7 separate regions of the Homo sapiens genome follow, and all the other regions are linked to region 1. Evidence: promoter capture Hi-C in 16 types of primary human blood cells and fetal thymus (Javierre and others, 2016). All regions are on one chromosome and are shown on one strand. Each heading gives the region's core, a stretch centred on a gene start or on the middle of the fragment in contact. The rest is flanking DNA. Distances are from core to core; before and after follow the strand shown.

Region 1 (3,150 bases), core at 556-3,055:
TCTTCTCCTTCTCCTTTGCTGGGTCCTCCTTTTCTTTCCATCTCTTCATGCAGGACTCCTCCAGGGTTCAGTCCTTGATCTTCTTTTTTCAGTTTTCTATCTACACTCATTCTAATGGTTTGAAATACTACCTATGTGCCAATTACTTCCAAAGTTTGATCTTTAGCCCACACCTCTCTGTCCTGCTGCAGAATCATACATCCCAACTGACTAGTTGACACCACCAATCAGATCACTAAAAAGTATCTCAAACTTAACATTTCCAAAACTGAAATCTTGATCTTACCTCTCAGATTTGTTCCATCTGAACTTTCCCGCATTTCACCTGATGGTAACTCCATCCTTTGAATCACTCAGGTCGAAAGTCTTGGAGTCATCCTTGACTCTTTCATGTCCTCCCTTCAGTTCCATCAGTAACTTTACCTTCCAGAGGAATCACTTCTCAACCACCTACACAAGACTTACCCTGGTTCAGGCCACTATCATTTCTTCCCTTCTTCCACACACCCTGCCCCTGCATAGGCTCTTCTCAAAAGAAGATTCTGAATGACGCTTTTACTTTATTTTTATTTATTTTTTTGAGAGGGTCTCACCCTCTCACCCAGGCTGGAATGCAGTGGCACCAACATGGCTCATTGCAACCTAGCCTTCCAGGCTCAATGGATCCTACTGCCTCAGCCTCCTGAGTAGCTGGGACCACAGATGTACACCATGCCCAAACAGATATATATATTTTTTTACTTTTTGTAGACATGGGGTCTCACAGTGTTGCCAAAGCTGGTCTTGAACTCCCAGGCTCAAGCAATCCTCCTGCCTTGGCCTCCCAAAGTGCTAAAATTACAGGCATGGGCCACTGCACCAGCCTGATACTTTTAAGATGTTAAGATCATACCATTCTTTTCCTCAAAATTCTATAAGAGATCTTCATCTCACATAAAATAAAAGCCAAAGTCCTTACAAAACTCTACACCACCTGTCCAATCTCAACACTTCTTGCCTTTCCTGGCTTGCTACTGACTAGGAGCATTGGAGCTGGCTGTTTGCTTTGCCAGGACAGCTTTTCTCCTTGATAACCAGCTTTTCTCAGATTAACAGCTCTTCCCTCAGATAACTAGTTTAGCCCATTACCTCCTTCAAACCTTGGCTCAATGTAACGTTTTCAATGAAGCCTACTCTGAGAATCCTATTTAAAATTGCAACGTACTTTGGGAGTCCAGGGCGGACAGATCACCTGAAATCAAGAGTACAAGACCAGCCTGGCCAACATGGTGAAACTCCATCTCTGCAAAAATACAAAAATTAGCCGGGCATGGTGGCACGTGTTTGTAGTCCCAGCTACTCAGGAGGAGGAGTTTGCAGTGATCGGAGATCGTGCCACTGCACTCCAGCCTGGGCATTAAAGCAAGGCTCCGTCTCAAAAAGATGAATGTCTCTTCATCTTCTTTTATCCTGTTCTATTTTTTTTCCATACCATGTCTTACTCTGTAGCTCACCATAATTTATTTGTATGCTCATTTTAGGTTTCCCTCAAGTAAAACGTAAACTAATCCAGGCACGGTTTTTGTTGTTGTTCCATTATTTTGAGGGCTGGGCACATAGATGCGCAAGGAGTGCCCAAACTCATCATCTCACTCTTTATACAGCTGGGCAAACTGCCTAAAGTTTCCTCAAGCCTCAGCTTTACTATTTTCTTGAATGGCTAAAACTCACAAAACACATCTAGCGTCAAAAACTTTGCGACCCCGGAAGTAAAAGGTTAAGGAAGGGGGTCACAGGAGAAGGCTATTTCCGTTTCCGTACGGAAGCAAAGGAGCCAAGACCATGGCGAAAGCCGGGGATAAGAGCAGCAGCAGCGGGAAGAAAAGTCTAAAACGGAAAGCCGCTGCCGAAGAACTTCAGGAGGCTGCAGGCGCTGGGGATGGGGCGACGGAAAACGGGGTCCAACCCCCGAAAGCGGCTGCCTTTCCGCCAGGCTTTAGCATTTCGGAGATTAAAAACAAACAGCGGCGACACTTAATGTTCACGCGGTGGAAACAGCAGCAGCGGAAGGTACGCGAGAGGCGGGGGCTGCCGGGCGCTTGCGCGTTGTTCCTGACGCTTAGGGCGGTCGCGGGGCGCACATCTGTGGTTGTCTGCTGGTCTCAAAAGTGTTCTCTGTGGCTCCGTGGGAAGGGTGGCGTCGCGGCCCACGTGTTCTGGTCCCCTCGCCCTAGTTTGGAGACTCTAGGTTCAGCCTTTTGCCTGAGCGTCAAGGTGGAAGATTATCTTGATAGGCTCTTTCCTGGGACGCTAGATTCACAAGGAAAGCTGTAAGGCCAGTTGGCTTAGTAGTGAAAACTACGCCCTCCTGGCCCAGAAGGCAAAAGTCTCAGCCCTTTGGTCCGTCTAGGTAGCGTTGGTTAATTTGCAGAATCTGAAATGGAGGCAATACGTAATAAATCCAAAATACTGCTTCTCTGATTCCTGCAGGAGCTCCTTACCGAAATTAGTACTGTAAAGTTTCTGGTAATTGTATTTGTTCTTTTCAGCTTTATCCTTATACGTTTCTGGTAGGTAAACAAACTGAAACGTAAAGAGGTTTAAACGACTTGTCAAGGTCGCAGTGCTCATTTCTGGTTAAATTGCAATTGGAAGAAAACGTTTGCTTATTCTTGCACATCGTAGAAGTTCACACAATATTATTATTATGTGTCTGCCTCCTCTTACTGGCCCTTCTGAGGCCCGGGACTGGTTCTTACTCATGTTCAGTGTCAAGGTGCTGTTTCAATACATACAAGGGGCGTTTAACTCATTCTGGTATGCACGTATTGGGGAGGGATGTCCTGGAAGACTTATTGGAGCTATGATTTCTAATCTGAAACCTGGTGGATTGAGGATCAGTAGGTGCTGGGGAAAAAAGAATATTTTTTATTTTGTCAAGCATTCTATCTAGAAATCTCCAGAAGAATATATAGATTGACAATACAAATACAGATAATCTTAAGCCACCTTGCAAGCTCTTACTAAATTTTAGAAGTATATTTTGATTATAAAATATGTGAATAACTGGTGATGGTTTTATGGAAAACAACCTGAAAACTCAGCTCCCATTCCTATTTTTAGTGCTTTTCAAGAGAAGCAAGCAGCATAACCATGGTCGTCTTTAGGATG
Region 2 (3,413 bases), core at 209-2,708, 270 kb after region 1:
GTTGACATAAACTTCCTTTGGCCAGCCATGGGAGGACGTGTGCACACACGCATAATGGGATGGAGAATTGAGAATGTGTTAGTGCCACTCCAAAAAAGACATCTGCTTTCAAAAATGTTTATGTTTAGCACAAAAATGTATTCCATGGAATTATGGCATGCATTTACATATTCATGGGCCTTAGAGGATATCCAAGTTTAAATTAGGAGCTTTCTCTTCAATTCTATCAAAGCTTGGAATTGCCATGGGAGTATGGCACCAATACTCTGGCAAGGAAGTTTGTCCCCTGAAGCCTCTCAGAGAAGGATCACCCAGCAGGGCTGCCACTATTCACACATAATGCTTGACCTATAAAAGCTTTCCCTTATTATGCAATGCACCTTAATTATTTCCATTCTATTCTAGTCCATTTCTTTAAAATGCTGGTCACATTCACTATATTGATTACCTGACCCACTAATGGACTGTGATCTGTAGTTGGAAAAATACTGCAGTAGAAAAATGAAGAGTGACCCCAAACTAAAGACTCTAACAGGAAGCCACAAAGACTGCTTGGAAGGTTTGGGAATGTTGTAGTCAAATCCATACCCAGAATGTGCTTATCAAGTGTGGCTTGCAGCTCGTGATCTGGGATGCCAGGCTGTCTGGATGCACTATGGCGGCAGTATCATGGGCTCACAAAATGGGGAGAAGGGATGGGAGATGGCTTTGAATTCTTTCTCCTTTAGCGTGGTGTTCAGGAACAAGCCACCTCTCTTAGCTTGGAGGGGAGGCTCATAGAGCTCTGTCATCCACAAGGAAATCTCCCATCCTTTGAGAGGAAATGCAAATGTCATCATCCCTTTCCTTGATGGGTCCTGTAAGGGTCTACTTTCCTTGACCCTTACAGTTGAAAGTCCTCTTTTTTCTTAACCCCTAGGGCACATAATTTATTTCTCACTTTGAGTACCTAACACTTTCTAAACTATGCTTTCAGCTTTTTTCCTTTATTGACTGTATGTAGCATCAGGACTATGATGATGTCCTACTCATTTTGTATCCCTGTGTCTAGTATGTGCCTTGCACATATCAGGTGCTCAATCAGCATTTAGGACATACACAAAGAGGCCAGAGAAATGCTTTGTCTTATAACATTATCCCTCTGTATCCATGGAGAATTGGTCCCAGGAACCGCCCTCCTCCCCACCACCACCCTGCAGACATCCAAATCCTCAGATGCTCAAGTCCCTTATATAAAACGGTCTAGTAAAATAATGTGTGCACATGGATACAGAGAGGGGAATATTAGATATTGAAGACTCTGAGGGGTGGGAGGGTGGGAGGACATGAAGGATGAGGATTTACTTAATGGGTACAATGTCGCTAAAAACCCAGACTTCACCACTATACAACATATTCATGTAACAAAATGGCATTTATAACCCTTAAATATATAAAAACAAAATAAAATGGTGTCATATTTGCATATAACCTATACATATCCTTCCATATACTTTAAATCATCTCTAGATTACTGTATACCAAATATAATGTAAATGCTATATAAATAGTGGATGTACTGTATTGGTTTTTTATTTGTATATTTTTTATTGTTGTATGGTTATTTTTTATTTTATTCTCAAGAATATTTTTGACCCAAAATTCATGGATGTGGAGCCCATGGATAAGAAGTGCCACCTGTTCTCAGAACTTGAGAATGATTTATCTTTGAGATGATGTCACTAGGATTCTGCAGGAGGCTCACTTATCAGCATTGGTATTCCCACATATCTTACCTTCTTACTCTTCTCCTTCTCCCTCCTTCTCCTTCTCCTTCTTGCTCCTTCTCCTTCTTTTTTAGAGAAGAGTCTATGTTGCCCAGGCTGATCTCAAATTCCTGGCCTCAAGTGACCCTCCCACCTCAGCCCCCCAAAGTGCTGGGATTACAGGCATGAGCCACCTCTTACCCTGAGCCTGCCCATTTTCCCATGCATCCATCCTCCCATCCAGCTCTTATTGAGAACCTGCTGTGTTCCTGTGCTAATCGTGGTGGTTACTAAGGTGGGTAGGGCAGTGCCTGCCTCTAGATCCCAAGTCTAGTGAGGCAGAAGAGAAGTGAGGGGGTAATGACCACAATGTGAGAAGCGCTATAAGGGGGGCAGTGGCCCACGTCTCCCAACTCATGTCACAGTGCAGTGCTCTCTCACCATATGCTTTTTGACTGCTTCTCTCAGACTTCTTTTTTTTTTCTTTTTTTTTTTAGATGGAGTCTCTCCCTGTCGCCCAGGCTGGAGTACAGTGGTGTGATCTCGGCTCACTGCAACCTCCACCTCCTGGGTTCAAGCGACTCTCTCCCTCAGCCTCCCAAGTAGCTGGAATTACAGGCGCCTACCACCACGCCTGGCTAATTTTTGTATTGTTAGTAGAGACGGGGTTTCATCATGCTGGCCAAGCTGGTCTTGAACTCCTGACCTCATGATCCACCTGTCTTGGCCTCCCAAAGTGCTGGGATTACAGGCGTGAGCCAGCGTGCCTGGCCTCTCAGATTTCTTAAACTCTGCCCCACCAGCAAAGATTTTGTTAAGCTTTATATCCCATAGTTTGTATTAGGAAAACAATAGCTGTGTTAAAAAATTAAATTGTTATAATATTGAATATGCATTTTCTAAGTGTTCACGTGTCTAAAGCAACAGGTGATACAGTGGGAACTGCAATACGGTGTGAAAAGGAAATTATTTAAACAAATAATAATAATCGAATTATCTTCAAGACATTTCCTTTGGCCAGGAATAACATCTGAACAGAAGCGTGACCCTGGCCTAAAGGTTTCTGCATGATCCGGTCCCTACCTGCTCATCCCTGGCCACAACCTCTTCCCTCATTGTGCAGCAGCCCTGGTGGGCTTCGCTGTCCCTCTTCTTCGTACACTCTTCACCTATCCCTTCCAGGTCCACGGCCCTTCTTATCCTTCAGGTCTCAGCCTAATAAGTCATCAGACAGGTCTTCTCTGACGACTTTGCAAAAAAGCTGTTGCCCACCTTAGTCTCCATCCTAGGAGTCTGATCTTTTCCTTCATAGACCTAATCACAAAGTGTAATTATTTCATTTGTTTGGTTGTCTCTCTTGCTAGACTGTGAACTCCACAAACTGTTCACCAGCCTATCCCCAGAGACTCGCATGGTTTCTGGCACATGGCAGACACTATAAATACATTTTGAATAAATGCATGTTAGGGCGGCTCACAGAAAGCATCTACTTGAAAGGGAGGACATCTCACCAGCGGGGGACAGCGCTGCAGAACCCAGCAGCGGAACAACAGCGACACCAAGTGGCCAGTCCGCATTACCCACAGCAGCTGTTCCTTGCCAGAAATCTCAGGCCTTGGAAGGCTGATGCTTGTAATTTAATGTGGATACTAATCCATTAAGCTTGTT
Region 3 (3,475 bases), core at 229-2,728, 310 kb before region 1:
AAAAGAAAGCTCTTTTCGTTTTCTGTGTGCTGCATGCTCCAGTGTGTGTGTTTACACCATCGGTTCTTCTCCCTCTAGAGATTAGCATAACTCCCTTTGCTGTTGGATTGTTATTTTGAGCAATATGTTTTGGAAAGGTTGGTTTTCATCATGAGTGGTAAGTATGCTCTCTGAGACTCTGCAGCTGTTTATTTAAAAAATATATTTATAAGAGGAAAAAATATTTTTAAAGGGACAGTTATAAAGCCACAGCTACTGTGAATTATATTTTGTGGTGACGCTTTTGTACTTAGGCATTATAGTAAATTGCCTTCAAAAACCAGTAAGAACTGTAAACAATTAATGGCACTATTAATAATCAATACCAATAATCAGTTTCTAATTTTCTTTATGGTTCGATTTATTGTATTTGTTGGGCACTGTTATTAATTGTGTTATAAATTAGTAAGTAGACTAACCATAAGAGAGGATTTTCTTTTAGTATCTGATCCTGAAGATAATTAGTTTAACTTTCCTTTGATTAGCTTTGTCATTCCTAATGCTAATTTTTATTAGATTATTTTTATTAGATTTTTTAAATAGTAATTTTGAAAATAAGATGCTGCCAGAATTTTGTTGATGTCTTGGTTGCTTTTACCTACAATTTATTGAGAAATAAGGATTTAATGATGAAATAATTAGAGCATTTTGGTTTTGTAGGGTTTGTTAAAATTTTTAATAAACAGTTTTTGGGGGAAATAATTTTTTAGAATAAGTACACTTGTGACAACTAGTCTTTTTTGTTATAATGTGATTTATTTTTTCTAAATATTTCCAAAACTGTTTTTTTGAAAAAATATACTACAGTATGTACTGCAGTTTATCATAGGGTAAAAGCTGTCACTTCAAGCCAAACCTGCAGCTAAAAATAGATATCCTGTTGTTAGAGTGAAAAACATTTGCTTAGAGCATAATTCATTAGCATCTTTTGCTTAAATAAGATGCTTGGAAGTTAACCTTTGATTCAGATATTTTTAAGAGAAGTAGAATATGGTTTCTCTGATAACATAACAGTCCTATAATTTGCATTTATAAGATTTGGAATTGGAATTTAGAAACTGAAAGGTGGATTTTTGCTGTATAATGATAGAATTCAAAATTGACGAACCTTTTCTTTCATAACTGGAGATCACCTCATTATAACCAATAAATATTCTTTATCCTGCTACAGTACAATATAAACCTCTTAAACACTGTTATATATTTGTTTATAGAATAATATTAGATATTAAAGGGACATTTTAACATGCAAAATACTAAGAATTAACTGGATTGTTATTTTCCTGTTACTGAAATAGATCTGTTTTAAATAATCTGCTGTTTTAAATTTGAACGAATATTACAAAAACAACTTAACATTCCTTAGGATTTCTATGGATATCAAACTGAATATACCTGGTTGTCATACATATATTTATTTGAATCAGGCCAATGCATATTTTCTCTTTGAAAATTTGGCATATAATCTAGAATCTTTAGGTAACCACCATGGTGTTCTGGAGGTTTTACAACAGGATGGATTGGATTTAGCTGAAGGAAAATGTTATTGCTTCACTATTGCTTTATTTTTCTTTAAAAAGCTATGCATTGTAGATAGCATTTGATATATTTGATCATATTGGCTTTCCCTTCTAGCCATTTTATACCACAAATAATCATAGTAATCACAACTAGGTGTTCTGACTTTGTCGAGAATGCCCAATTTCAACTGATTTTAATCATGTCATAAATGGTTAAGTGTCCTAGCCATTTCAACTTGGAAAATTACAAGAGAAGTGTGGTTTTATTTGTAAAAATAAGCAAATGCTAGGCCTTTTAATCTAAGTCTGTAACTACACATGTGATATTTATGTGTACATGGTACTTTTCTCGTTATAAGACTATTCCTTTTATCCTTTGCCAATTAAATGTTGGTTTTCTCTGAGAATCTATCTTTTGGCCTTCTTTTGATGCTACATTTTCTCCAAAAAATCTCATCCATGCCTACATCTTCAGTCATTACCTGAACGTTCAGTTCAAAAGTGGATTTTCTTTTATCATCCCTAAATCTGCTCCATTTTCATTGACTCTGATATCTGTTAATGATCTCACTGCCCATACAGGAAGTGAAAACAGAAACCTTGGTCATTTCTAACTTGTTTCTTACCCTCAGACATGTACTCAGTCATTAAGTTCTATTGATTCTACATCAAAAATCACTCAATATTCTCCAGTCTTACTGACACTGGGATGGCTTCTAGATCTCTTCTCAATCCTATTATAATAACTGCATTACTGGTCTCCCAGCTTCCAGTTTTATATCCTTCCAGGCCATTTTCCACACTGAAAATTTTAAAATGCAAATATGCCCATTTTTTAAACTAACATGAAAACTTTCAGTTACTCCCTATTGCCTTTAAAATAAAAGTTAAACTCCTTATTAGGTCACATGCAATCAATGACTTACCTTTTTGGTTTTGTTTGCAAAATCTCTCTCACAAATTTTGATCTAGCCATACTATATTACATATAATTCCTTGCTACCTTTCCATATTTATAGTCTTTATCATAAAAATTTAGAGAACCAGTCATTACCTCCGACACTGACCCTGTGGAATTAGGTGATTTCTCTGTACTCCCAAAGCAAACTTACAAACTACAACAATTATTGTATTATATTGAAATTATAAATTTGTATGTCACTTTCTAATCTCTAAATGTTGAACTCAAGTCAAGGACAGTGCCTTATTCATTGTATGTTTCTAGTAGTCACCCCAGTACCCCAAACACAGCAAGGTACCCAATAAATACTTATAGAATTAATGATAAACTAAATATAATTCATTTTTACATACTTGAACAGTTCCCTTACATTGCCAGTGAAAAATACCAGTGTGGGTTTTGACTTTTTTTGGTTCAGAAAAATACAATAACCATAGTATTTACTTGTTCCTTTATCAACTTTGTAGGATGAAGTCATATAAAATGCTTAAGAAACTAAATTGTACCAGTCAGTACCTTTATCTTTCTAGTATTTAAAAAATTGGTTATATGTGAAAAGAGCCTTCACTTTCTAAATGTTTTTCTTACTCATAACTCTTTTTGTGAAGTTTTTGCCCTTGTTAAGCAAACAAGGTCTATAAAGAAATACTAAAGGAACTTCTCTGAAAATCAGTCAAACTATTGTAAGGCCCTTATGTTTAGAGGTTGTAGCAACTCACTCAAATAAGCTTAAGCAGAAGAAGATACAGGTATTATTGGGATGCAGAGGATGTCATGGAGCTCAAAGGCAAAAGTAGAGTTGAGCTGTTCCAAAGAGTAGAATTGATTTGGAAAGCTGACTGGAATCATAACAGTACCTTTCTCAGTTTTTCTCTCTGAGATCACATGACGTCTTTACTTTTTTCCTTGTATTTGCTTTATTATCCTCACTGTGTAGCGAATAGGTTTCTCTGAT
Region 4 (3,592 bases), core at 1,050-3,549, 280 kb before region 1:
ATAGGAACATTTTTAAGGCTTTTGATACATATTGCCAAATTGCTTTCCAAAGTTATTATGCCATTTTACACTTCTACCATTAGTGTATTATAGTGCCTATTTCATAACACTATCACTGGGTATACTCATTTTTAAAATATTTACTGATTTCATAGGCAATAAATTGTATCTCATTGTTTTAATTCTCATGTTTTTTATTTATTTTTCAAATGGTTAATAGCCATTTGGTATTTCTTTATGTGTCTGTAAATTATTAGTTCATTTCCTTGGCCCATTTATCTATTGTAATTTAACATTTTTCTTATTGATGTGTTTTGATTTCTATACCTTGGGTATTAACTTGTGTCTGACATATTTACTATAAACATTAGCACACAATTTAAACATATGAATCAAAAAGTTAAAGAGAGTTAATGCCTATTTCTATTAAAAAACAAAGTGCTATTCCTGTTATACCACTCCTTCCCTTAAAAAGATATACACAGTATCAGGAAAAAAAAGAGAAAAAGAAAATCTCTATAGCGCTAAAGTATTATATTTTTGCTAGAATTTTGAAAACTAAGTAGTTTGTAAAGCTAAAATTTTGACAAAAGGGTGGAATGTGGTGAGTCGTGATGGTAGAGGGTACCTCTGAGGGCAGAGCAATAGATCTGGGTAGAATTCAGCTTATTTCTCTTCATGACAGGTTTTTGGGGTTGTTAAAAAATCTCTTGTGTCAGTTGATACTGACCATAGTTAATAAACTATATTAGCATGTTAATATGAAGATGTTATTCTTATTTATTTTCTTATGAATACTTACAAATTTTAATTTTAGTAAGCTTAATATGAAAAAAACAAACATAACCTGTGATTTTTACATTTGGTTTGCAAAGCACTTTTTACACACGTTACTCCCTTTCATTTGATACAGTCCTCACAAAACTCTGTGAATTCATTTTTTTCCTGCATATCTTTTAGATATAGGAAGCAAGACAGTAGATAGCAGAAGTAAAGTATACCTAAATATTTACATGAATTGAATTTTACATTAAACTTTTTGCTTTCACAAAATCCTATGAAGCAGATGGGATTATCCCTAGCACATTCACCCTCCTAACTCCAAAAATATAGAGTATTTTGAAGTCAACTTCATTATTTACTATGTAGTCCAGTTTCTATTATTTTCTTTGAAAACTTTTGATCTTTCTAGGCATGCTGTGGAAAATCTGTTTCATAAGATTATGGACCTAGAGTGGGCCTTAAGAAGTAATGTGGTCTAACTGCCTTCCTGTTATTGAGCAAGAACTAAATTATACCAGTGAAATAAAGAAAATTTCATTGTCTATAATATTCTTAATAATTTTAGGAAGAAGATTTAATACTCTTTCCTAATATCCAATTTCAGTATCTGGAAATCCTCTCCTTTGTTTAATTTAAATCTGACCTGATACATTTGGTTCATTTTTAAATTCTGTCCTGAATAGCTGCTCAGCAATTGCTTTAAAAAAATTTTTATATGCTTCCAGATCATTTTGAAATTATCTTTGACTTCATTCTCTTTTGAGTAACTTAAGTAACAATTGACATTGGTGTTGGTTTATCTCAGGGCTACAATAAGGCAGTGGATTGGTGGGCATTAGGAGTGCTAATCTATGAAATGGCAGCTGGCTATCCCCCATTCTTTGCAGACCAACCAATTCAGATTTATGAAAAGATTGTTTCTGGAAAGGTAAGTAAAACATTTTATTATTCCTCTCTTATTACTGTATATGAATTTTAAGCTTCATGAATTGAAACTATATTGTGTCATAATTATTATTCTACATTGGGAAAAATATAGAAAAATCTACAGTTGCTGCTCTTACTATCATAAGAATTGAATCATTTCAGTCTCTTAAGAAAAAAAGGGCAGTTTTATAAAGAAATTAACAAAACAGTAAAGCAATTTCTGTATTTAGTATTTTTATCACAAAGAACAGGATCATAGCCATAATTCTCGATATTCCTTCAAATAAATAAAAATAGTTTATTATTTCATGTGTCTATCTTCATGGAGAAAAGTTTTAGGGGCTGTTTTATATGCCCTTCCATTTTCAGGAGAGACTTCTTGTTTTAATTATGTCCAATACTATAACATTGGAAGTAAAAGTAAATATAAAATGAATAAGCCTTTTTCAGATGGAAATTTATAGAATTGATTTTAACAGAATTGTTCATATAGATTGTGATTATACTTGTCATTGGTTTTTAGCAAACATGGAAATAACATTAATTTTTCTTCAACATGAGTAGACTTACTGTGTTGTAGTATTTTACATTTTGTAAATTTCTTCATAAACCTTCCTTCTTTTGCACTTATAACCTCTAATTTGCTTTCAAGAGTGTTTTGTTTAGGGTCAGTCATTTGCTGTTGCCTTAGCTCAGACCTCGGATCTTTTTTTAAAAGACCATTGTCAATTCAATAGAAATGAGCTTGAATTTCCTACCATGCAGCAATGAAAGAATAGGCTTTTAAACATTCCCAGAAGGAGACCTTCTATACATTAATGACAAAATATATGGGAAGGGATATTTTGCTTATTTTCCCTTCTTTCTATTTCTACATGTGGTACTGCTTTGTCTTTTCTTTTCTTTCCCACATAGTCCCATTTAGAATATGATCAGGAAATAGAGCATCAATCTTTATCACATTAGCCTGAGATGTTATAGAGTTGAGGTTTTTTTGTTTTATTTTTTATTTGTTTGCTTTGTATTTTGTGACCTTCTTAGGCAGAGATAAGCCGGAAGGAGATAGTAGAGGGAAGGTCTTTATTTCTTTGTATCTCAGCCATATTCAAGCTCTACATTTAGTGTGAAAGCTTACCCTTGGCATCTATCAACTTACAATTTCCATTGTTAACTATTCACAAGGTACCCTGAATGTCTCTAATGTGGTAATTTATTTTTTTTGCCAACACTCAAATTTAAATCATAGATGCTGCACAGCTGGGCTGTAGCAACAAGACATTTGCCAATAGAATTAGTCTATCCAATCACCTAGAACATACATTTCAGCACAGTATTGTTCCCTATCTCATAGTACATATGCACTCTACCTGGGTCATGAGATTTTCCCTTGTATTTTGCCACGTTTTATGTAGAAAGTTTTATTTATTATCAGTATTCACAAATTAGGAGACTGACTAAAGAATTTATACTCCAACTATGTCAAAGGTAAAAAAATAAATACCTCTTACAGATAAATAAACCTAGCTAGGTGTTGAATGCTGTGCACTGATAAAGGCAATACAGAAAAGCAGAATGCAGTACTTATTTAAACAAGTATCAGTATCACTGCTGTTCTTCTTACATTTGTAGATCTCTGGCTTCAGACTTCTTATCTTTGTAATTGTTTTCTCCCAGCAGAACTTTTGATATGAACAAAACAAAACTTTGAGAAAAATTAACAGACAAGGCAGTGATTTATTTTTGAAGAATTTGAGAAGTGTAGACTCTCAAGAGGACTAAAGGTCATATGAAGAATGATGAGAGAACCAAAATACATTAAAATCACAAATGGAAGAAGAATATTTTACTAATACAAAAACTAAGAATGTAAATGTTATAATAA
Region 5 (3,360 bases), core at 613-3,112, 290 kb before region 1:
GTCTTTTCACTTATACAAAGCAAAATTTTTGTTCCACTATTCAAATGTCTGAAAAATTGTACCACATTTATTATTTAAATTGGTCACTTTTGAGCTCTTTGGAATGATACTGGCATCTCTCTGCAATATTGAATCATATGAAACATTTTAATCTTTTTTCTCCTTTATTCTTTAAATTAAATGAAGACCTATGTATTTAAAATATTAAAACCATTAATCTTTTATACATAAAATGTAAATATTCTTATTAACTTTTTAAATTGTTTTTTACCTTTGTTATTCTTTTGCATATATTATAACGTTACTTCATTGCCTGAGTATTTAATTGTTTGAGAACTAGATGTTCTCTGCAAGAAAAGGAAGAGCAAAAGTCCCAGACTAGTTTGTGGCAAAAATAACTAGGAGGGGAAAAATATGAGTGTCTCTGTATAGAAAAGCTAGAGCATGTTCCATTTATTCTTTATTTCTCAAGGTTATTAATCTGTCAGAGAGATTTTAAATTTTTCTAATTCAGCATTATATAATATTAAAATAATTTTGACCTAAGTTGAATAATTGTATTTCCTTTTTATTTGTTCATAGGATAATTCTAATTTATACATGGTTATGGAATATGTCCCTGGGGGTGAAATGTTTTCACATCTAAGAAGAATTGGAAGGTTCAGGTAACTAATGGTTTTGCTTTCTTCAAATCTTTATATGCTTGTGTTGTTTAACCAGATTTTTAAGTTGATGCCAATGCCAAAAACTTATTTTGTTTGATTAATATTTTGGCCATATGAAGCATTAGGTGGAAACAAAGAGGCCACATCATACACAAGTTTTAATATAAAGAATATAAAAATTTAATATAAAAAAAGGACTTTGAAGCCAATTTAAATGTTATACTACTGCTAGATATTGTGAGGGTCCACTACTTGAAGAGTTTTCAGAAAATGGAAAAATTAATTGAATTTTAAAATATCAATATTTATTAAACAAAGATTAATAATACAACTCCAGGACAGAGGATTGTTTTAAGGATGAAGATGGAAAATAAATATATAGAGAAATAATAATAATAGTATTATGGTAATAAGATTATAAAAGTTTGTTTTTCACAAATTTAATTCTCCTTAAAGTTCTTGCTAAGTTTAGTTTTTAAAATATACACATAATTTAACGGGAGTTTGTACCTCATCAGGTTATGACTAATAAGATCTCAGAGTTATTAAAATAGGTTATAGAATCTGATGGTTTTACCTGTACTTAATAGTTTATAAGCTTCTACCGTTCATTAATAATCACTAATAGAATAAAGCTAAAATAAAAAACAGGTACAGCTTCATTCAGTATAGTGTGTTGAAGTCAAAATAAAAATGTAGAGACAAATCTCTAAATTCAACATTTTATTGAGGAAGCAAGAATTGCAGTTTGAGGCATATACACAGACTAGGTGGTCTTCAATGTGTCTAGAAAACAAAGAAAAGGTTGGAGGTTTTATAAAAAGAAATTTTATGTTTATTTGTTTTGAAACAAAGTTTACTAGCACTAGTTAAGTTTTGGGGAGCTGGCAAGCTCTGATTGGTGAGTGATGGTGGTGGGTCAGACTCGTCTAAGAGTCGCAGTAGGTTGTCTCAGTAGCTGTTAGAGAAAACTGGTTTCAGGTTACAATAGGCAGTTTCAGCAACTAGACTTGTGGAAAATATAATTTTTTTGTTTGTTTTTGGTTTTTTTTTTGAGACTGAGTCTCCCTCTGTTGCCCAGGCTGGAGTACAGCGGCACCATTTCGACTTACTGCAACCTCTGCCTCCTGGGTTCCAGTGATTCTCTTGCCTCAGCCACCCGAGTAGCTGGGACTAGAGGTGTCCGCCACCACATCCGGCTAATTTTTCTATTTTTGGTAGACACAGGTTTTCACCGTGTTGGCCAGGCTGGTCTCGAACTCCTGATCTCAAGTGATCCACCCTCCTTGGCCTCCCAAAGTGCTGGGATTACAGGTGTGAGCTACCACACCTGGCCTTAATTCTTGGAGCAGGTGCTGTGTGCCCTGAGTGCGTTATTCCCTGGCCCCTCGACTCTGATTTAGTTAGGTATGATGAGAATGACTAATTTGTATAATCAGCTTTCACATTTTTCCCTTTTGATCAAGATCTTTCTCTGAAAGCATTGCTTGTCAACCATCTTGAAGTTAGGCTTAATTATTCCTTGGTGCTCGGATGGACTTGTTCTGGTTGTCTCTGTCCCACATATGAGAGAAGTTATCTGTTGGGGGGTGTCTATGTAGGGACCTGGGCCACATTCAAGTAACGAGGAGGCCAGAAGGAAAATTTTTCTCAAAGTAGATTTTTGTCTGGAGTCCAGCCAGCATCGAGTTCCCACTTATCACTTCCATAGGTATTAGCAGTCATCTTTAAGTGTTGGGCTAACGTTATTCTGTTGGGACAGCTGCCTTTACAAAGATTAGATAGGCACTAAGAACAAAGCTTACAAATGATAGTACAAAAAAATTAACAATATAGTAAAATGTATTTGTGCAGTGCTTTTGAACTAAAGCCCAGGCCTAAGGGCAAAAAACTAAAGAAATCAAAGGACCAGGGGAAACTGGTGAGACCTGCTATAGCCATTGACTAACATTTTATGACTGGGTTGAACTAAAGCAGAGAATGCCAAACTTTGCAAGAGGGACCACCAGCACAAATTAAACAAAAAATTGTGTTAAGGATATTGTCGATGTTGTGACTAGATGAACTGAAAGAATTTCTTAAGTCAGGCTTTGTCAATGGCTTTAGCAGGTCTCACCAGTACCTATAGCAGTTACTGATTGTGAATTTTAAATTACAATATTATTTGGTTAAGTGAAAAAGCAGGCATTAAGAGGGGTAAGAGTTTCATTACAATATGGAGTCTTGTTCTAGTGTTTTGAGAAAAGCTGTTCACACCATGGAAAACATCAACTTTCTTGGCTTTGTTTACAGTGTAAATGTCTCTGGCTATGGCTTTGGGCAGTTTGATGAACTTTCTGTGTGGCCCATACATCAGGCATGAGACTTGTTTCTTAAAATTTATATAGTTTCAGCTAACAGGACTTCAGGAACAGAGCGGTTCTCATTTTAGTAATTTTATGGAAGAAAGTTCGATTGGAGGAACCTAGAAGAATTTAGGACCTTGTCTAGTCTATAGGTAGATAACAAGACTCAAAAATAATGTACAGACTTACAGTCTAATAACAGGTATATTATAGTTATTCTTTAGAAAAAACTTTTTTCTCTACATTGATTACATAGGAATCTTGGATTTAAAAACCTCTTGAGGCAAGGAAGCCGAACCAAGGCAGTCTTAGATTTTCCTTACAGTCTTGAGGTTCCTGGTCCTGCCAGG
Region 6 (3,228 bases), core at 676-3,175, 310 kb after region 1:
GCTAGTGGCAGACAGTGGGCCACCCGGTTTTGGGGGGTGTTTACCCCTCCAGTTTCCACACGGGGCTTCCTGACAATGATCACTAAACAATTCGTCACACGACCAGCCATAGAATCTTGAGTTGTGACTCAAACCTCCCTCTGTCCTATGTCCACATCCTTATCTTTGGTAGATGCAGGTCTCACTTTTACTCTCCTCTCGATGTGAGAGGGAGGGGCTGGGCCTGAGTCCACATACACCCTCTCTAGTAGGACGTGCCTCTGGTGGGCATGGACATGAGCCTACAGGAAGCCAAGTTTCTTCTGACCAGAAAAGGGAAGCCAAGTAATCTATGTCTCTCCCTGGGGAGACCAGGGAACAAATAAGCCACTTAACACTTATCCTGCCCCATCTTACCCCGCCCCCACCTCTCCCAGGGGACCTTGCATACATGACCCTCTCCTATGACCCCAACCGAACTTTCCTCTTCAGTTCAGTTCAACAAACGTCTATTGAACACCATGTGCCAAGCCCTATGCCAGGTGAGGGGATCCAAAATGAATAAGACGTGTTTCCATTCTTAAGGAACAGATTAGGGAGTAAGTCAAACCCAGAGGCATTATTCCAACAAATGGGAGTACAGAGGGGGCTGGAACTCAACCTAGGCTTCCTGGAAAGGAAGGGAGCCTGAGGTTGGCCTTGGCAGACATGTGGCAGGTTCCCCGGGACTGGAGAGTGGTGGGCATAGGACAGCGTGGCAATGTGCCTCCAAGGTGAGCACGGTACTTGGCACACAGTAGGTGGTCAGCACACGCACTGAGCTGATAGATGGAGCAGGTAGCCAGCAGTCAGTGCTACTGGTGCGTGAACGCTGGCCTGTGGGGGTTGATGGCGCTGAAGAGGGTCTGAAGCCCGAACCTGAGGAGGGCCTTGAGTGCCAGGCCCTTATCTTATAAGACCTTACCCTACAAGAGTTTGAAGCAAAAGAGTGACATAGTCAGATTTACATCTTCTTTGCTCATTATTCCACTACCCTAAGGAAGCCTCCTGAGAACTTTGAAGAGTTGCCCTCTAAGATCACAGTCTCATGTGACTGGTATTGCAAGCAGCTACTCTCCAGCCATATTATAATCGTGGTGCTCCTTCAGCCAACAAATGGGCTAACTAGATAGCTAATCTTGAGATACTCGGTCGACAGTTTATAGGGTGAAATGTTCAGTCTCTACCTTAGTTCCTAATCTGTAAACAGACCTTTTGAATTCTATTGAAAAGCTTTCTCCACAAACCTTTCCTACAAACAAGAGTTTATTCCCACCTCCTGTCCTTAACTGCTACAATGCACTCTTACCATCATGAACACACCTCTGCACATCCAAGTACCCAGTCCTATTTGTACACTTACGGACCAGTATCATAATATGACATCCTGGATCAACTTCTGAAATGCAATAAGCAACGTGTCACAGCATAGGAAAGAATCAACTTCAGGCTTGGGCACAAGGTAGGCCAAGGCTGACATTCAAAAGAGGGCTGTCTATTGTAATGTCTAGTTTTAAACCTGGATCATGCCTCACTCTCTGAGATTTCTGCTACGTTTTAACGATTTTTCTGAAGATTGAATAAAATAATGAGTAAAGTGCTTAAAAATGCCCTACCTATAGTAAGCTCTCAATAATATTGTCTATGTTCATTATGATTAACAGGATAGTTCTGCCAAACGTTCAGGTCATTTATACCTCTGAGGATAGAGAGAAATTTATCTATTGTGAGAAATGAATTTGGCAGTTTTTAACGTTAATTACTTTGGTATTGTTCCTTCATGTTTTGTGTTTATATCTTGGCCCCTAATTATACTGTTAGGACTTTGAAGGCAGGGATCTTGTTAGATTTGTATTTTTATATCCTTCAAAGAATCTAGCACTATTTCTAGTATGTCATAGATATTCAATAAATAGATCTAGATTGACTCAATGTTAGAAGGGCTCTATAAGTATTAAAGTGTTAATCACCACAATACTCGGCAAGTGATAATCTGCCCCACAGTCCTTGTCTTTGCTGCCACATCAGGAAAATGGGCAGACATAGGTTCTTGAGGTGGGTAATGAGCCCAAAGGTCTGTAGACTATACTGTCTGACTGGTTCGCACACCCCAGCTAATCACTGTATCTCTGCTTGCCACTATACACTGGCTGAGGAAACCTCATGAACTTCTCTGACCTGCAGGCTCCAGGGTCCCAGATGCAGCACCGGTTCCCCAGGCATTTCTTGTGCTAAGGTGCGTATGACTCCTCCAAAGGTCAGGAGAGGCCCTGGAGAGCTGGCCCCCTTCTTGGGTATCACTTGCAACAAGTTGGGGCAGACTACTTTGGCTTCTTCCTCCTGGTCAAATAATAGGCCATTCAGTCTTGGGGAGAGAAATGAATCAGCAACCCCAGGGCCATTCCAGTGGCCCTGAAAGCTGCCAGCTGGACAGCCCATTTCAAACAACCAATTAATATGAGCACCACAAGTTGATTTGAGCAAATCCAGGCACCTCTCTCTGCAAGTACAAGACGGGCCTGCGTGTCTGCATGGAAAATGAAGTTGTTTCACCTTCCATGGCATTGTTCCACTCAAAGAAACAAGCTTTATTTATCTCAAAACTTGGCTTCTGTTGACTTGCCAGATGAAAAATGATGTGAAGTTACTGAAATCATCTGCTAAGGGAAATGAATCCAAGCACGGTGAAAGATGTTTTGCTGCTTTTTCAAAGCACATCAGTCAGCTTGTCTTACAAGCACAATATAATTTTCTACCAGGTAAAGACAGTAATTATTTCAATTAGCAATTGAATTAGATGTAGAAGATAATGAGGAATAAAGATGCTGAACTAAGTTCAATAACTCACCACATATGCTTCTCTTTCTTGTTCTAGCTAAAGTAGCAGTAAACAGAGTGAATTCAGCTGTGGGATGATAGGGGCCTTTCCCCGCAAGTGGACTGAGTCTCAATTCATCATTCACTGCCTGATGAAGAGGCAGTATAGCAGACATGAGATGCCAACAGTACTCAGCCTATGCTCAGTCCAGCACCATCCTTGGTGCACAGTGACCCTTGTGGAAAATGGGAAATTATGAAGTTCTATGGTAATTAGTGAAACAATAACTTAAAGATATTTTCAGTTCCACTGCTGAAATAAAATAAGGAAATTCCAAGGATCTAGAGTATTTTTATTCAGCATCTTCTGAGACCATTCCTTTGATTTCACTC
Region 7 (3,467 bases), core at 263-2,762, 350 kb before region 1:
AGAAAAGAAGTATGAAGTTAATTTACCTGCTGGTATTACTAATAGTTTAATTAGGTAAACAGCATGAGTTCAAAACAATTAATCATCTGCCATAAAAGTCTAATTATTCCTGGCACATTACTGAGCTATTTTTACTGTGTGAGATAAATATGAATTTTGCGGGTTTTTTTTCTTTTTCTTATATTTGATAGCTATAGACAATAAATTTAGTTCTTATTTTCTGTTGGACTCTGACTTTTGAAATGTTATTTTGCTAACACATTCAATTGACTATATTTACTGTTTTCCTAACTTGATTACTACTTTATTTTACTTCTAGTGAATATATTTTATGTTTTGAAGAAAATATAATATTTCCTATACTTAAATCATAAAATTATTTTAAGGATAAATATGTACTTAGTGGGAATTTTTTGTTTAAAGTAAGCCAATTTGCCAAATTTTACATTGTGTAAAAAATAAAGAGGCTTTGCTCAGGATTCCTCAGATTCCAGTCTATTCTTTGTTAGAATTATTTCTTTTCTTTTTTTTTCTTTTTTTTTTTTTTTTTTGAGACAGAGTTTCACTCTTGTCACCCAGGCTGGAGTGCAATGGTGTGATCTCGGCTCACTGCAACCTTCACCTCCCAGGTCCAAGCAATTCTCCTGCCTCAGCTTCCTGAGTAGCTGGAATTACAGGCGCCCACCACCACGCCCAGCTAATTTTTGTCTTTTTAGTGGAGACTGGGTTCCACCATGTTGGTTAGAATTATTTCTTTAATGTATGTACCTTAGCTGCAAAAAAGCAAAATTAAAAAAAAAAGATGTTTTAGCATACAAGATTTTTAGACAGTATAGGACACATAGAACTGACAGCTTTCATGTTGAAGAACAATATTGTCTTGATTTCACTGGAATTGTTCATTTGGGTCTATAGCATTCTGTCCAAATTGCAGAAATTGATTGTTATGGCATACCCACGATTTTCATGCTCATATGTTATAACAGAATAGTTTTTAAAAATCTTGTTTGAACAGTTTGGTTGTTTGCATGCTTCCAGTGTTTAGACTTTTAAAAAACGATTTGAAAAAATATGATATTGAAGTGTACTTTGATTTTCTTTAATTTAAATAAATAATAGTCATATATTTATTAATCAGATGTATTAATGTAATACAGTTTACAAAGAAATTTTATGTATATTCTCTTAGTTGAGCCATACACAAAACTAGTGATATAGTCAGGGAAGTTATTAATGATCTCGTTCAGCAGAAGAGGAAACCAAAGATTATAGAGGTAACTGATTAGTTTAAAAAGTGGCATATCTGTCAGCATTATGTGTGTTCCTATTGCCCAGTTTTGCCCATGTAATTTTCTGTGATTATGGAAATGTTTGATGTTGGCACTGTCTACACATGTAGCCATTTAGCTACATGTGGCTGTTGAGCACTTGAAATCATGGCTCATGTGACTGAGGAACTAAATTTTTAATTTTATTTAATTTTAATTTACGTAACCATGTGTCACTAGTGACTATAATATTGGACAGTGTACCCTAGACTCAAACATATGAATAAAAGCAATTTGAATTCCTGGAAGAAAAATTAGAGAATACTTACCTTTCAATGTACAGCATATGTTTTGAGCAATTGAATATTCTTACATTAGAATTGTGAGATTAAATAAATTTCCATATCTCTTTTTATGTTGAATAGTAAGATCATTGTTTTTGCATATTGTATTAACTTACTGCTTAATATTCAGCACAATTATAAACTTTTTTAGTTTACTATACTTTGAGATATATATTACTATTATAATTTTAGGTATTCTGGTGAGTTCAAGGATAAAAAACATGGAGTGTAATTGTGAAAATTTGTTTATGTATTTGAAAATATATCAGTTTGCCAAGAGTGAATCAATTTCATATTAATAATGACACCATACTTGATAGTAGTAATCATGAAATTTTGTATAAAAATTACATTTTTTAAAGAAATGTATGCATGTAACTTTTTGTCTCATAAAGTACTGTGACAAAAGTACTACAACTTTACTGTGGATTTACTCAGAAAAATGTATGTCAATTTCACACTGAGATTAAGGTGAAGCATGTTGAAAGTAAAACTTTTATCTTTTACATTTTTTATTTCTAAATCTATTATTAAATTATTAAAATCAGAAGTGATGAGATTAGCTTCTAGTTCCAATTAAGATGGAGTAAGTAAATGCACATCACTCTATTCCTCCCACTGATTATGCCTAAAAAAGATTCTGAACAGAATACATAAAGTAGCTGTAGAAAGACTTTGAAAAGTAAATATAGCAGGAAGATTGGAAAGGGAAATCAAAACTTGAAAAGAGACAAATACAGTAGTGAATTTCCTGCTTTTAGCAATTTCTTCCTACATCCTCCAGCTTAGACTCAAGGCAGTCAGAATTCCAGAACTGTACAGTGGATTCAGACAGAAAATGCTGTGGCTCACGCCTGTAATCCCAGCACTTTGGGAGGCCCAGGCAGGCAGATCACGAGGTCAGGAGATGGAGACCATCCTGGCTAACAGGGTGAAACCCCATCTCTACTAAAAATACAAACAATTAGCTGGGTGTGGTGGCGGGCACCTGTAGTCCCAGCTGCTGGGGAGGCTGATGGCATGAACCTGGGAGGCGGAGCTTGCAGTGAGCCAAGATCGTGCCATTGCACTCCAGCCTAGGCAACAGAGCGAGACTCCGTCTCAAAAAAAAAAAAAAAAAAAAAAAAAGAGAAACTCTCTTTCTCTAATGAGAGACCCTGTAAGGAAATCCCTGGTGACAAGGAAAAAAATCAATGAAATTCCATTTGTTTGTTTGTTTTCTGGTCCTGCTTTGAGACAAGATATACTCCTAAAACTGCACTCCTGTGTCAGTGGCAGTAGCAACAATGACCAAACAAGTACCTCAAATTATGAGAAAGAATGGAGACAACCCAGAAAAGAGTCAGTGAATTAGAACAGAAGATCAGGAGAAATTGTCTATTGTAAACAACAGGAAAACATTTGTTTAATAAAGGGAAAAGAGCCTTAAGAATCTGTAAAACAATATAAAAATGTCTAACCCTACAGGTCTTTGAAATCACAGTAGAAGAGGAAAGAGATTGCTGCAGAAATTTCTAAAAAAATTGAATATGTAATGGCTGAAAACTTCTCAAATTTCGCAACTGACATAAATTTACAGATTGAAGAAGCTTAGTGAATGCCAAGAAAACAACATCCAAAGATATAACCAAATTACTGGAAACCAAAGAGATAATTCATCAACAGCAATGCTGCTTTAAAAGAAATGCTAAGGAAAGTTATTTAAACAGAAAATAAGTGATACCAGAGAGAAACTTGGAACTTCATGAAGGAAAGGAAAGCAACAAAAATAATAAATATCTGGATAAATATAATAAATTGTTTTTTCTCCTCTTAAGTTCATTAAGATATGTATAATGGTAGAAATAAAAAGTTA

The links. Contacts are between HindIII fragments. The CHiCAGO score rates a contact against its expected background, and 5 or more counts as called.
Region 2: a contact is called between a fragment that was not itself captured here and the fragment with the promoter of RPF1 in region 1, in 12 of 17 cell types (M2 macrophages, megakaryocytes, endothelial precursors and 9 more). The highest score is 8.3, in M2 macrophages.
Region 3: a fragment that was not itself captured here is called in contact with the fragment with the promoter of RPF1 in region 1 in 7 of 17 cell types (naive B cells, fetal thymus, M2 macrophages and 4 more); the score reaches 7.8 in naive B cells.
Region 4: a fragment that was not itself captured here is called in contact with the fragment with the promoter of RPF1 in region 1 in 2 of 17 cell types (total CD8 T cells and naive B cells); the score reaches 5.5 in total CD8 T cells.
Region 5: a fragment that was not itself captured here is called in contact with the fragment with the promoter of RPF1 in region 1 in 13 of 17 cell types (naive CD8 T cells, erythroblasts, M1 macrophages and 10 more); the score reaches 9.3 in naive CD8 T cells.
Region 6: a fragment that was not itself captured here is called in contact with the fragment with the promoter of RPF1 in region 1 in 2 of 17 cell types (megakaryocytes and M2 macrophages); the score reaches 5.4 in megakaryocytes.
Region 7: a contact is called between a fragment that was not itself captured here and the fragment with the promoter of RPF1 in region 1, in 15 of 17 cell types (megakaryocytes, fetal thymus, M1 macrophages and 12 more). The highest score is 11.3, in megakaryocytes.

The regions. Positions count from the first base shown.
Region 1 is chr1:84,477,461-84,480,610 of GRCh38, forward strand. RPF1 (ribosome production factor 1 homolog) reads left to right here and starts at 1,806. Exons shown (of 9, transcript NM_025065.7): 1 at 1,806-2,049. The coding sequence starts at 1,822. RefSeq lists enhancers at 1,467-2,027, 2,223-2,382. The HindIII fragment of the contact is 6,088 bases long and covers 1-3,150 here.
Region 2 is chr1:84,750,429-84,753,841 of GRCh38, forward strand. No RefSeq gene overlaps it. Among named protein-coding and RNA genes, the nearest start is that of SSX2IP, 62 kb to the left of the region's middle. RefSeq lists a silencer at 3,217-3,266. The HindIII fragment of the contact is 2,207 bases long and covers 356-2,562 here.
Region 3 is chr1:84,164,857-84,168,331 of GRCh38, forward strand. All of the region lies in intron 1 of PRKACB (protein kinase cAMP-activated catalytic subunit beta), which reads left to right. Among named protein-coding and RNA genes, the nearest start is that of PRKACB, 22 kb to the left of the region's middle. RefSeq lists a silencer at 2,150-2,199. The HindIII fragment of the contact is 3,536 bases long and covers 1-3,246 here.
Region 4 is chr1:84,201,095-84,204,686 of GRCh38, forward strand. It overlaps PRKACB (protein kinase cAMP-activated catalytic subunit beta), which reads left to right. Exons shown (of 10, transcript NM_182948.4): 8 at 1,589-1,711. Among named protein-coding and RNA genes, the nearest start is that of PRKACB, 59 kb to the left of the region's middle. The HindIII fragment of the contact is 1,077 bases long and covers 1,762-2,838 here.
Region 5 is chr1:84,184,518-84,187,877 of GRCh38, forward strand. PRKACB (protein kinase cAMP-activated catalytic subunit beta) reads left to right here. Exons shown (of 10, transcript NM_182948.4): 5 at 583-665. Among named protein-coding and RNA genes, the nearest start is that of PRKACB, 42 kb to the left of the region's middle. The HindIII fragment of the contact is 1,202 bases long and covers 1,262-2,463 here.
Region 6 is chr1:84,782,952-84,786,179 of GRCh38, forward strand. The region is part of intron 2 of LOC102724892 (a long non-coding RNA gene); the gene reads right to left. Among named protein-coding and RNA genes, the nearest start is that of SSX2IP, 94 kb to the left of the region's middle. The HindIII fragment of the contact is 1,353 bases long and covers 1,250-2,602 here.
Region 7 is chr1:84,127,475-84,130,941 of GRCh38, forward strand. It overlaps a transcript of PRKACB not described here. Among named protein-coding and RNA genes, the nearest start is that of PRKACB, 15 kb to the right of the region's middle. The HindIII fragment of the contact is 3,373 bases long and covers 1-3,199 here.